Linked DNA regions of Homo sapiens: region 1 is linked to region 2. Evidence: promoter capture Hi-C in 16 types of primary human blood cells and fetal thymus (Javierre and others, 2016). All regions are on one chromosome and are shown on one strand. Each heading gives the region's core, a stretch centred on a gene start or on the middle of the fragment in contact. The rest is flanking DNA. Distances are from core to core; before and after follow the strand shown.

The links. The method cuts DNA at HindIII sites, captures the fragments that hold promoters and counts their contacts. A CHiCAGO score of 5 or more calls a contact.
Region 1: a contact is called between a fragment that was not itself captured here and the fragment with the promoter of METTL5 in region 2, in 1 of 17 cell types (M2 macrophages). The highest score is 5.3, in M2 macrophages.

Annotation. Positions count from the first base shown.
Region 1 is chr2:169,442,378-169,448,933 of GRCh38, forward strand. No RefSeq gene overlaps it. Among named protein-coding and RNA genes, the nearest start is that of BBS5, 34 kb to the right of the region's middle. The HindIII fragment of the contact is 5,603 bases long and covers 315-5,917 here.
Region 2 is chr2:169,823,116-169,829,767 of GRCh38, forward strand. It overlaps METTL5 (methyltransferase 5, N6-adenosine), which reads right to left and starts at 1,790. Exons shown (of 7, transcript NM_014168.4): 1 at 1,374-1,790. The coding sequence starts at 1,482. It overlaps UBR3 (ubiquitin protein ligase E3 component n-recognin 3), which reads left to right and starts at 4,339. Exons shown (of 39, transcript NM_172070.4): 1 at 4,339-4,937. The coding sequence starts at 4,393. RefSeq lists silencers at 2,336-2,539, 4,133-4,692, 4,953-5,082 and enhancers at 6,100-6,601, 6,602-6,652. The HindIII fragment of the contact is 10,424 bases long and covers 1-2,927 here.

The DNA.
Region 1 (6,556 bases), core at 1,866-4,365, 380 kb before region 2:
GTACACATTCAGAATTGTTATGTGTTCTTGGTGAATGGACCCCTTTTTCTTTATGTAATGCCCTCCCTCTCTGTCAGAATGCATGTAGGGCAACATAGTGAGACCTTCTCTCTTAATCAATAAATAAATTTTTAAAAAATACATGGGTGGAAAAAATGATAGCCTTAATTAAAAAAAAAAAACTTTAAAGCTAGAGTGACTATTTAATAGCAGAGAAGAATTCAGAGCAAAGACAATTACCAGGGATAAAAAGGGACATTGTCCATTAACCAAGAATATATAACCATCCTAAGTGATAATATACCTAGCAACAAAGCTTTAAAATACATGAAGCAAAAACTAACAAAACTGGAAGGAAAAATGGACAAACCCACAATTATAGTTGAAAATTTCAACTCTCCTCTTTCAGTAATCGTTAGAACAAGTAGACAGAAAATCAGCAAGGACACAGAACTGAACAATGCTATTAAAGAACTGTATCTAATCAACATTAATAGAATATTTTACCCCATAACAACATGATAGTCTTTATATAGGCACACAGAATATTCATCAAGATAGAGCATATACTAGGTCATAAAATAAACCTTATCAAAAGTAAAAGAGTTGAAATCACACAAAGTTCTTTGGCCATAAGAAAATTAAACTAAAAATCAATAATACCAAAAAAAGTTTTAAACACTTTTAAATTAAACAGTAGATCTTTAAACAACCCACAGATCAAAGAGGAAGCCTCAGGAGAAATTAGAAAATACTTTGAATTAAATGAAACATAAAATAAAATGTAAAAATTTGTGGTGTACAGGTAAAGCAGTGTTTAAAGGTGAAATTATACCCATTATGTGCTCATATTAAGAAGAAGAATGATCTCAGATCCACTAGCTAAGATTCTATTTTTAAAAACTAGAAAAAGAAGAGCAACATATGTTCAAAGCATGCAAAAGGAAGAAAATAATAAAGGTAAAAGCAGAAATCAATGAAATTAAAACTAACCAAACCAAAAAAGGGCAACTGGAAGAAAGAAGACTAGACAAAATAAAACCAAAAGCTAGTACTTTGAAAAGATCAATAAAATTTAAAATTCTCTATCAAGATCAACAAAGAAAAAAGGAGAAAAGACACACATTATCAATATCAGGAAAGAAAGATGGGATCACTATAGACCCCACAGATGTTTAAGGTATAAGGGAATGCTACCATTCTAAGCACATAAATGGAACAACAAAGATGAAATGAACCAGTTCCTTAAAACCTCAAAATACCAAAATGCAACCAAGATGAAATAGACAATCTGAATTTTTCTGTAACTATTAAAGAAATGGAACATGTCGTTGAAAACCTTCTAAAAAGAAACTTCTAGCTCACGCCTGTAATCCCAGCACTTTGGGAGGCCAAGGTGGGCAGATCACGAGGTCAGGAGATCAAGACCATCCTGGCTAACACGGTGAAACCCCGTCTCTATTAAAAATACAAAAAATTAGCCGGGCATGGTGGTGAGTGCCTGTAGTCCTAGCTACTCAGGAGGCTGAGGCAGGAGAATGGCGTGAACCCGGGAGGCGGAGCCTGCAGTGAGCCAAGATCGGGCCATTGCACTCCAGCCTGGGTGACAGAGCGAGACTCCGTCTCAAAAAAAGAAAAAAGAGAAAGAAAGAAATTTCTAGACTCAGATGGTTTCACTGGCAGATTCTATAAAACATTTAAAGAAGATATTACATCAATTCCATACAATCTCTTCCAGGAAAGAAAAGAGAAGTGAGTTCTTCTCAGCAAAGTTTATGAGGCTACTAGCATTATCCTGATAACAAAACCAGAAGATGATGATAGTACATGAAAACTATACAACAATAGCCTTAATGATGAGAGGCACAAAATATTATTGAATCTAATTCAGCAAGTATAAAACATGAAAAATATACCACAACTAAGTGGAATTTATCCTGGGAAAGCAAGGCTGGTTCAATATTTTTAAAATTAATCAGTGTAATCCACCATATCAATAGCCTAAAGAAGAAAAACCATATGATCAGATCTCGATTGCTGCAGAAAAAAAAGCATTTTCTAAAACTCAACATCCATCTCAGATAAAAATCTCAGCAAATTAGGAATAGATGGGCTTTTTCTCAATCTGATAAACAGCATTCTCAAAAAAACAAAACTACAGCTAACATCATACTTAATCATGAAGACTGAATGCTTTTCCTCTAAAGTCAAGAACAGAGCAAAGACTTTTAACACTCCAATTTAGCATTCTACTAGAACTCCGAGCCAGTAGAATAAAACAAGAAATAAATAAATTAAATTAAATGCACACAGATTGAAAGGAAGAAATAAAACTGTTTCATAAACAACGTAAAAATCCCGAGGAATTTACCCAAAAAAAAAAACCCTCCTAGATCTAAGTGAATTTAGCAAAATAGCAGGCTACAAGGATAACACATAAATATCAATTATATTTTCATTTACTAGCAATAAACAAAGGGAAACTGAAGTTTAAAACACAATACCACTTATAATATGTCCAAAAAATTATATACCTAGGTATAAATCTAACAAAAATTTTTAAAGGCTCTGTATGCTGTAAACCTCAAAGCACTGATTTTAAAATATCAAGATCTGTATGAATAGAGAGACATACCATGTTCAAGTACTGAAAGACTCAACATAATAAAGATGTCAATTGATCCATATGTTTAATGCATTCCAATCATAATCCCAGCAACATATTTGGCAGATATAGACAATCTGATTCTAATATTTATATGCAAAAGCAAAGGAACTAAAATAGCCTAAATAATTTTGAAAAGGGGGAATAAAGTTGGAAGAATCACACTACTGTATTTTAAGATGTACTACAAAGCTACACCAGCATGGCACATGTATACATATGTAACTAACCTGCACATTGTGCACATGTACCCTAAAACTTAAAGTATAATAATAATAAAATTAAATTAAATTTAAAAAAAACAAAGCTACAATAATCAAGAGAATGTAGTATTGGCAAAGGAACAGACACATAAATCAATGAAACATAATAGAGTCCAGAAACAAAACCATACATATATTAATTTTGACACACATGCAAAAGCATTTCAGTGGAGAAAGGATAGTCTTTTCAACAAATAGTGTTGGAAACATTGAGTATCCATGTGCAAGACAATGACACTCGACTCATAACTTGCACCATATATAAAAATTAACTCAAAATGGGTTATAAATCTAAATGTAAAACCCAAAGTGATACAATCTTTAGAAATATATATAAATAGAACTTCATGACCTGGGTTTAGGCAAAAAGTTCTTTGATAGGACACTAAAAATGTAATCTATGAAGGAAAATATTAATAAATTGGACTTCAAACAAATTTAAAACTTTTACTCTGCAAAAGATGTTCACTGTTAAGAGAATGAAAAAAAAGCTACAAACTGGGAGAAATTATTTGTAAATCGTATGTCTGGTAAAGGACTTCTATCCAGAATTTTTTTTAACTCTCAAAATTCATTAGTAAAAAAACAAACAGTTAAAAGATGGAAAAAGGCCTGAGGCAGTGGCTCATGCCTGTAATCCCAGCACTTTGGGAAACCCAGAGGGGAGGATCGCTTGAGCCTAGGAGTTCAAGACCAGCCTGGGTAACATAGTGAGACTCCCATCTCTACAAAAAAAAAAAAAAAAAATTTAATCAGTATGGCATGGTGGTACATGTCTGTAGTCCCAGCTACCTAGGAGGCTAAGTGGGAGGATCACTTGAGCTCGGAAGTTTGAGGGTGCAGTGAGCTATGATCACACCCCTGCACTCAGCCCTGAGCAACAGAGCAAGACTTTGTCTCTTAAAAAATAAATAAATAAAAGATGGAAAAAGATGTGTACAGATATTTCACCAAAAAGGATACACAGAAAGCAAATTAGCACAGTACAACATCTAACATCTTCAGCAATTAGGGAAATGTCGATTAAAACCAGGATGAAATATCACTAAACTCCTAGCTAAAATAAAAATTACTGACAATACCAGGTGCTGACAAGGATGCAGAACAACTAGAACAATCATGTGTTGCTGGTGGAAATTCAAAAACAGCTACTCTGAAAAATCATTTGACAATTTTTTATAAAGTTAGATATAGCCCAACAATTTCACTTCTAAGTATTTACTTTAGAGAAATGAAGACATATTCACACAAAAACTTGTACTTGACCATTTTTAGCAGTTGTATTTATAATTGCCCAAAATTGGAAACAGCTAAATGTCCTTAAACTGGTGAATGGGTAAATAAACTCTGGTACATCTACACAATGGAATACTACTCAACAATAAAAAGGAACAAACTACTGATACATGCCACAAATTGAATGAATCATAAAGGCACTATGCTGAGTAAAAGAAGCCAGTTTCACAAGGTTACTGTGATACAGTGAGAAATACATATTTGGTCTTTGTCCCTGGTTCCTGACACAGAGCTCCTAAAACTTCCTGAGTGATGGGGATGATAGGAATGTCTTTTGTCGTTCATAACAAGCCCCTTTCCACCATATTTGAGTTTATATTAATAAAGTGACTTAGTGGGCTCCTAGATAGCTTCAGGATGGGGACTGGTTGCTAGAGGAACCAATTACGTGATTACATGGTTGGGACTTTCGGCCCCATCCCCAGACCTCTAGGGAGGGGAAAGGGAATGGAGACTGAGTTAATCACCAATGGCCAATGATTTAATCGATTTTGCTTATGTTTATAGATGGAACCTCCATAAAAACACTCAACAATGGGGTTCTGAGAGCCTCCAGGTTAGTGAACACATTGAGGTGCTGGAAGGGGTGGTGCACCTGAGAGGGCCTGGAAGCTCTGCACCCCTTTGCCCTTACCACACCCCGCACATCTCTCCCATGTGGCTGATCCTGAGTTGTATCCTTTATAATAAACTGGCAACAGTAAGTAGAGCACTTTCCTGAGTTCTGTGAGCCATTCTAGCAAATTATTGAACGTGAAGAGGGGGTTTTGGGAACTCACTGACTTTATCCTCTGTCAGCCTTAAGTATGGGTGGCCCAGAGCAGAGGCTGTCTTGTGATATTACACCCTTAATGAGTAGAATCTTTTCCAACTCCAAGCATCAGTGCCTGAAGTGAATTTTAGAACACCGAGTTGGTGTCCAGAAAGTTGGGGAATTGGTTAGTGTGAGAAAAAAAAAATGCACATTAGATGTCAGAAGTGTTGTGAGTAAAAACAATTGAGAATTACATTCTGAATGATTCCATTTATGTAACATTCATGAAAAGACAAACTTTTAGTAATAGAAAACAGATTTGTAGATTCCAGGGCTAGGGGGTCCCAGGAGGCTATGACAGCAAATGTGTAGCGGGAGGGAGGTTTTTGGAGTGATGGCACTGTTCTAGGTCCTGATTACGGCAGTAGTTACACAAATCTATACATGTGTTAAGACTCATAGAATTGCACACTAAAAATGTCCCTTTTACTATATGTTAATTTTTTAACTATGTAAATATTTTAAAGATAGGACAGTTTTTGTTGAATACAGCTCAGCCGTGCCAAAAGTATGACTTAACCATCAAAAGAAACAGCTTGAGATGCATTAATGGAAGTATTCAATCCAGAACAAACAAAGCTACAGACCCACTGGACTCTAAAGTAGCCAGACTGCATCTATAATATTGTGTTTTATTTGGGACATTGATAAAAATCAACAGCATCTAAAGGAAGGTGACCAAGATGATTAGAGGATGATAGAAAGGATTAGGACTATTTAGCCTGGAGAAGAGAAGGAATGACATGGTAACTCTCCTACTATATTAGAAAAATGTCCAAGTAGTTTACTGAGGCCTATTCTGTGTTACTCTTGAGGGAAAAAACTGTGTCCCCCAGGGAGTAGTTACAAGAAGGCAGATCTCAAACCACTATACAGGAAAGCTTTCTATCAAGTTGAGAATAAATAAAACGACCTGCCTAGATAAGCAGTGAGCCTCTCGTCATTGGCTGGAAATCACTGAAAATGTTCAAGCAGACGTTAAATAACCATCTATCAAGGTTATTGTCAAAGGGATTACTTCACTGAGTAGGAGAATGATCTATTTAACCTCTAAGGTCTCCTGCAACTCCATCTCCTGTATTCTGTTATAAATGATGCTCTAAATCACCCTTACCCTATGTGTATCTCCAACTCCCTACACCTCATTACAGTGTATACAGGGCTCACAAAATCCCCATGGACTCCTGCTAACACTGACTGTCTTAAGACAGCCTTCATGGCTGCTTTAATGATTTCCAGCCAGCAATGGGGGAGAAGATATGCTGAAGAACATGGGAAAAAAACTAAAATTTCTGTAGAGAATGGATAGATAACTTTTAACCAGGATATATAGAAAATTTTTGACTCTGCTCTGTTTGATAAGTTATTGTATCAGATCCAAAATGAACTACTACGAGCCTTAAGACCTATTTCGACTTCCCTGTTCTGGCCCCTGCTCTAGTCTAGACGAGGAAACTGGGAAGCCCCATGTCCTGAAAGTTACCATATGCAAAATAATTCCCATATTCTTTCCTACTC
Region 2 (6,652 bases), core at 540-3,039:
GGACTATAGGCACATACTACCACACTAGGCTAATTTTTTTTTTTTAAGAGCTGGGGTCTCACTGTATTGCCCAGGCTGATCTTGAACTCCTGGGCTCGTCATCCTCTTGCCTTGGCCTCCCAAAGTGCTGGGATTATAGGGGTGAGTCACTGTACTTGGCCAGATTGTTATTATTTTTTAAACTGGATTCCACTAAAAAAACCTACAGTCAGAAGACTAGTAAGTCATTATTTGAGAAAACTGGTCTTAACCTAGACACAGTAGTTTTGTGTGAATTTTTGGTTGGAATCATGACAGTATCTTGGAGTTAAGTGTAAATACACATGTATTCTCCTTGACTTTCATTGACAACTTAGAAACAACTATTTTGGAACTGGAAAAAACTCCTTGCAGGTACTCTCAGAAAATTAATTTTCCTAAGGAGCCAGCCTCAGTGGCTCATGCCTGTAATCTCAGCACTTCTTGAGGCCCCAGTGGGAAGATCGCTTCAGCCCAGGAGTCTGAGACCATCTTGGGCAACATAGCAAGACGCTGTCTCTACAAAAAATAAAAAATATTAGCCAGGCATGACGGTGCATGCCTGTAGTCCCAGCTACTCGGGAGGCTTAGGTAGGAGGATCACTTGAGTCCTGGAGGTCAAGGCTGCAGTTGCCGTGATCATGCCACTGCACTCCAGCCTGGGTGACAGAGTGAGACCCTTATCTCAAAAAATAATAATAATAAAATTTTTTTCCCCTAAGGTTTCCCAATGACTTCGGTAACATAAATATATGTTGTCCTGTATTCTCTCTTGTACTCCCAGTATCAATATCTGGCATGAAGCAACAATGCTAATGCTCAGAAAATCTGTTAAAATATGCATGCTCATCTTTACACAGCACATACTCTGATTTTGTTAAACTATCATTCCACTATCAACTCTGGTATTCATTTCTAGGGCAGAGTATATAGCACAAGAATCCTTGCGTAGGCAATTAGTAGCAATGGGAAACTGATCCTTATTTAGTAAATGTTTACTGAGCTCCTAAATAGTACCAGCGACTCTTCTGGGCACTGGGAATTCAAGTATGAACAAGTCTAACAAATTCCTTGTCCTCAGAGATTGTAATGTGAGAAGAGAAAAAAACACATTAAAAAGATGTCTGGCAGTGTTAAGGGATATGCAGAAAACTAGACAGTAAAATGATAGTGTGTATGTCTGTGGAGGGTGTGCCTTGAGCTGCAGTGTCAAGGAAGGCCTCTCTAACGCGACAGGTGATCTTAGGGCAGAATTTCTCTAGACATTCTCTGTATCCAAATAACTGTTCTATTTTTATCACAGAGTAGACTGGACTAACGCCGAAAGCCGGGGCGTGGTGAACCAGCCGCCCTACCTGCAATGTGCGGCCTGGTAGGATACTGTTCCAGAAGTAGCTTGGGCTTTTCAAATCCATCCACTTGTTGCAGGCGACTCTCTAGTTCCTTAAGCCTTACTTTCTTCATTTTGTTTTAAAGTATGGACTCGTAGGGTTTGAAGGCACAGGATCTGCGGAGAAATCTATTGAACTGGGATCTTGTTTCCTCCCTACCCCCAACCTTCTCCCTTTTTCAGCACCGCTGGCCGGACCCGAAGACGCGCCCTAAGGAGACGCCCGGACGCAGGGCACGGGGCGAGCCTCTGACCCACCTCCCGGCTAACCCAAGCCGCCCCAGGAGACGGCGGCGGCGCACTGCTGGAGCAGCCTCAGGATCCCTCGCGCCACGACCACGCACCTCTGGAGGCGACCCGCACCTCGGCCGGTGCCGGAAGCGCCAGGCCGCACGCGCGCACGCGTTCGCCGCCCAGCGGCCCGGCGCCGAGCTGCAGCGTTTATCTTGAGCCGGGGTTCCGCTGGCCACCTGGGGGCCTCATTGCCCCATCCCCTCCGCCTGCAAAGCCTGCGCTACTTGCTGACCCACCGCCAGTCCTCGCCGCCTGTCGCGTGCTCATTACCCTCTAGTTTGCCATGAGTACCTGCGGGCCCTCAAAGGATGGGGAAAGACAGAGTGAAAGGGATGCGGGAGAGAAAGTCACAGTCACTTTGTTGTATGGCCCAGAGTGACTCTTCTTGTTTCCCAAGTCTCGGCTCAAAAAGTAGCGATCTCCATTCACCTTTACCTCCTTCTCCATTCTCATGCCTTATTTTATTGTAACTTTGTTTCCCAATTTTTAGGTCATTTGTGTCACTTGCAATTCTCACAGGAGTGGTGATGTCAAAGAAACCCAAAGAAGAGATAGTGGAGAGGCAGGGCGCGGCGGCTCACGCCTGTAATCCCAGCACTTTGGGAGGCCGAGGTGGGTGGATCACGAGGTCAGGAGATTGAGACCATCCTGGCTAACACGGTGAAACCCTGTCCCTACTAAAATTACAAAAAAATTAGCCGGGCTTGGTGGCGGGCGCCTGTAGTCCCAGTTACTCGGGAGGCTGAGGCAGGAGAATGGCGTGAACCCGGAAGGCGGAGCTTGTAGTGAGCCGAGATCAAGCTACTGCACTCCAGCCTGGGAGACAGAGCGAGACTCCGTCTCAAAAAAAAAAAGACAGTGGAAATGAAAATAAAAGAATAGGTAGTGGTGTCAAATACTGGAAAGAGGTCGGGCTTCATAAAGTAGGAGCAGAAATTAAGTTGTAGCAGATTGTGGAGCGAATGGAAATTTAGGAAGAAGAAAGAGTAAATGTGAACAATTAAACGTGGCCCCGGAAGCGGTGGCTCACCCCTGTGATCCCAACATTTTGGGAGGCCGAGATGGGCGGATTGCTTGAGACGGGAGTTTGAGACCAGCCTGGGCAACATAAGGAGACCCTGTCTCTACTAAAAATACAAAAATTAGCTGGGTCTGATGACGCGAGCCTGTGGTCCCAGCTGCTCGGGTGGCTGGGGTGGGAAAATCGCTTGAGCCCGGGAGGCAAAGCTTCCAGTGATCTGAAATTGCGCCACTGCACTCCAGTCTGGTCGACAGTGAGACCCTGTCTCAAAAAAAAAAAAAAAAAAAAGAAAGAAGAAAAGAAAGAGAAAGAGAAAGGTGGCCTACGAAAAGAATGGTTGGATGCTTAGTAATGGGGGAAGCTTTATTATTTTTTCAATTATTTTTAAGACAGGAGGAGACAAATTCTGACAAGAATTGAGCTAATAGAAAGAGAGGGGTTAAAAATGCAAGAGGATATTGGATGGAGTTGGGATCCTGAGAAGGCAGGATCCAGTGGTTAAGTAAAAGGATTGCAGGATTGCGTTTAAGCCTGTGGATGGACACCTCTTTGCATTATTATAGGAAGAAGAAAAAGAGTGAATGGACGATGACGAAGTAGAGAAGTGTCTGAGGCTGCTACTTCTAGGAATAGCAGAATTCAAAGTTATCTGTTATGAGAATCAAATGAGTTAAAACATACAAAGTTTTAGCATGTAAAGTTAATACATAAAGTTTTATTTAGTTTATAATTTAGTGATTCGTAAAATTATTGAGCAAATTTAACTTATCACTGTTATATGATGATCGTGACATACTTAACTCATGTAGAAGACCAGGAATAACCTGTTTTAATTATGTTTCATTCATTTCAAACACAAGGTTATGGATTGGAAACACTCCTGTTCTTCTTTGTTGTTGTTGTTGTTGTTGTTGTTTTTAGAGACGGAGTCTCGCTTTGTCACCCAGGCTGGAGTGCAGTGGCGCGATCTCGGCTCACTACAACCCCCGCCTCCTGGGTTCAAGTGATTCTCCTGCCTCAGCCTCCGGAGTAGCTGGGATTACAGGCGTGCGCCACCATGCCCGGCTAATTTTTGTATTTTTAGTAGAGACAGGGTTTCACCATGTCAGCCAGGCTGATCTCAAACTCCTCACCTCAAGTAATCCGCCTGCCTCGGCCTCCCAAAGTGCTGGGATTACAGGCGTGAGCCACCGCGCCTGGCCTTCTGTTCTTCTTTGGATTGCTTTTCCTACAGTTTTTGTTTTCCTTAAGTTGGGGTTTCATTCTGTCGCCCGCTGGACTTTGATAACAGTAGGAATGTACATCTCAGACAAAATGCAGATGCCTAAAGTACATCTGAAAGATGATGTGAATAATTCCTGTAGTCTATGCAAATAAAGAAATAATTGCCCTTATTAAAGATTTCCTATAAGGTGAGTACTTTATTTCAGTAGCTCTTAACTTAGAAAGTTGGGAGCCTAGCTTGGTCCACAGGCGCCCAGGAGAGAGGGGCGGGAGGAAGGCTCTGCAGCCCGAGGGGGCGTGTGTAGGGGCGGGGCTGCGGGCGGAGGAGCGCGGACGCTCCGGGTATCGCGAGAGTTGGGCGGGCCGAGCAATCGCAGCAGTCTATTCCCTCACTCTCCCTGGAGGAGCCGCTGGCCCTGGACTCTCCAAATTCTGAGCTCTCATCATGGCGGCGGCGGCCGCGGCGGCCGTCGGGGGCCAGCAGCCGTCACAGCCCGAGCTGCCCGCGCCGGGGCTGGCCCTAGACAAGGCGGCCACCGCCGCGCACCTCAAGGCGGCCCTCAGCCGGCCGGACAACCGCGCAGGTGCTGAGGAGCTGCAGGCGCTGCTGGAGCGGGTGCTGAGCGCCGAGCGGCCGCTGGCCGCGGCTGCCGGCGGCGAGGACGCGGCGGCGGCCGGAGGCGGGGGCGGTCCGGGGGCGGCCGAGGAGGAGGCCCTGGAGTGGTGTAAGTGCCTTCTGGCGGGCGGCGGCGGCTACGACGAGTTCTGCGCGGCGGTGCGGGCCTACGATCCCGCGGCGCTCTGCGGCCTGGTCTGGACAGCCAACTTCGTGGCCTACCGCTGCCGGACGTGCGGCATCTCGCCCTGCATGTCGCTGTGCGCCGAGTGCTTCCACCAGGGCGACCACACCGGACACGACTTCAACATGTTCCGCAGCCAGGCCGGGGGCGCCTGCGACTGCGGGGACAGCAACGTGATGCGGGAGAGCGGGTGAGTGGAGCCCTCCCCGCGGGCGAGGCGACCCTGGGCCGGGGACGTCGCGGGAGGGCCTGGAGCGGAGCACTGGGAGCCCACTCTGAGCTGTCAAGGGGAGGGTGCGGGGGAGGGTGCAGCCACAGGGGGATGGAGGTGACTGAGCTGTCAGCGGTGGAAAGGGGGTGGGGAGGAGAAGGAGGGGAGAGGAGAGCGGAGAGCATGTTTAGGAAACCGGGCTGTGAATTTTGGGGAAGCCAGGGTGGGTAAATGATAGCGAGAAAAGAGCCAGTGTATGGGGTAGGAGGGGAGTGAGGGGAAATGATTTTTGGGGAAGCTCGTGTCGAGCTGTCAAGTGTGTACTTGTTGGGAAAGGCTGTAAAGCCTGGTTCTTGGGAAGAGACTTAGGTTGTGATTTGGATTGGCTGGGAGGGGATGTTATTGGGGACCGTATTGGCTCGCGGGATGATGAGAGCTGGGGAGGTGGTCTTGTACGTGCAGGGAAGGACGCTTGAGGAAAAGGTCTTCTGAACTGCCAGTGTGTCTGTCACTGTGAGAGAAGGAGCTCTTGAGGGTTGAGGGAGGAGGGAAGGGGAGGGGCCTGCATGAAAAGTGACTGTTGAGCTGTCAGTGGATTATTTGGTATGCTGGAATGACATTTAGAATTGGGCTACTGAGCAGTCAGTTACAGAATACCCTCCATACCAGGAGAACAAACAAAATACTGAGCGAACCAGGAATCAAGTGTTAGGTCTTCTCCAGTTAAGGGCACTTTGTTCACTCACTGATACGTGAACCTCTGTCTAAAAGGAGACAACAAATGCCCTTTTGACAGAAGCGATGCATCAGATGTTGGGACTTATGAGAAAAGACATTTCAGAGTTTGCAGTGAGTTACAGAGAGTTGGTACATGTAGGGTCGTGGCTTGGAACATGATGTCAATGTCAGGGACAGTCTGAGAAAAAAGGAAAAAGTGAAAGGGGCGATTTTGGATGGGCAGTAGTTGAAAGAATATTAGCAACTACAGGTTGCTATCAGTTATTAAACTTCTTCAATTTTCAGGTCTTAGGATTAATGACAGAGTACAATCTTTTTATAAATGGTCACCTTTTTCTTCGGAGTACTTGTAAGGTTACTGTTACTCCAAAATGTTTGTACCTACTATGTGCAAGCAAGGCTTCTTGGATATTAAAAATGAATGAAACATTGACCAACCCCTTACTCTACTTGCACTGGAGTAGAAAGTAATAAATTCCTTAAACAATAACTTGGTAGCTAGAGGAGGGAGATGAGGTTTCTGTGCAGAGGGAGTAAGAAAAAGTCTTCAGAAAGGAGGTATTTTGAATTTGCTAATAATAATAACAACATAATTGCAGCTAACATTTGAGTTTTTTTTTTTTTTTTTTGAGACGGAGTTTCTCTCTTGTTGCCCAAGCTGGAGTGCAATGGCGCGACCTCGGCTCACTGAAACCTCCGCCCCCTGGGTTCAAGCGATTCTCCTGCCTCAGCCTCCCAAGTAGCTGGGATTACAGTCATGCACTACCACGCCTGGCTAATTTTGTATTTTTTTAGTAGAGACAGGGTTTCTCCATGTCGGTCAGGCTAGTCCCGAACTCCCGACCTCAGGTGATCCGCCCGCGTCGGCCTCCCAAGTGCTGGGATTACAGGCGTGAGCCACCGCGCCCGGCCAACATTTGAGTTCTTGAACTGTATGTCTGATACTTTAAAAGTAC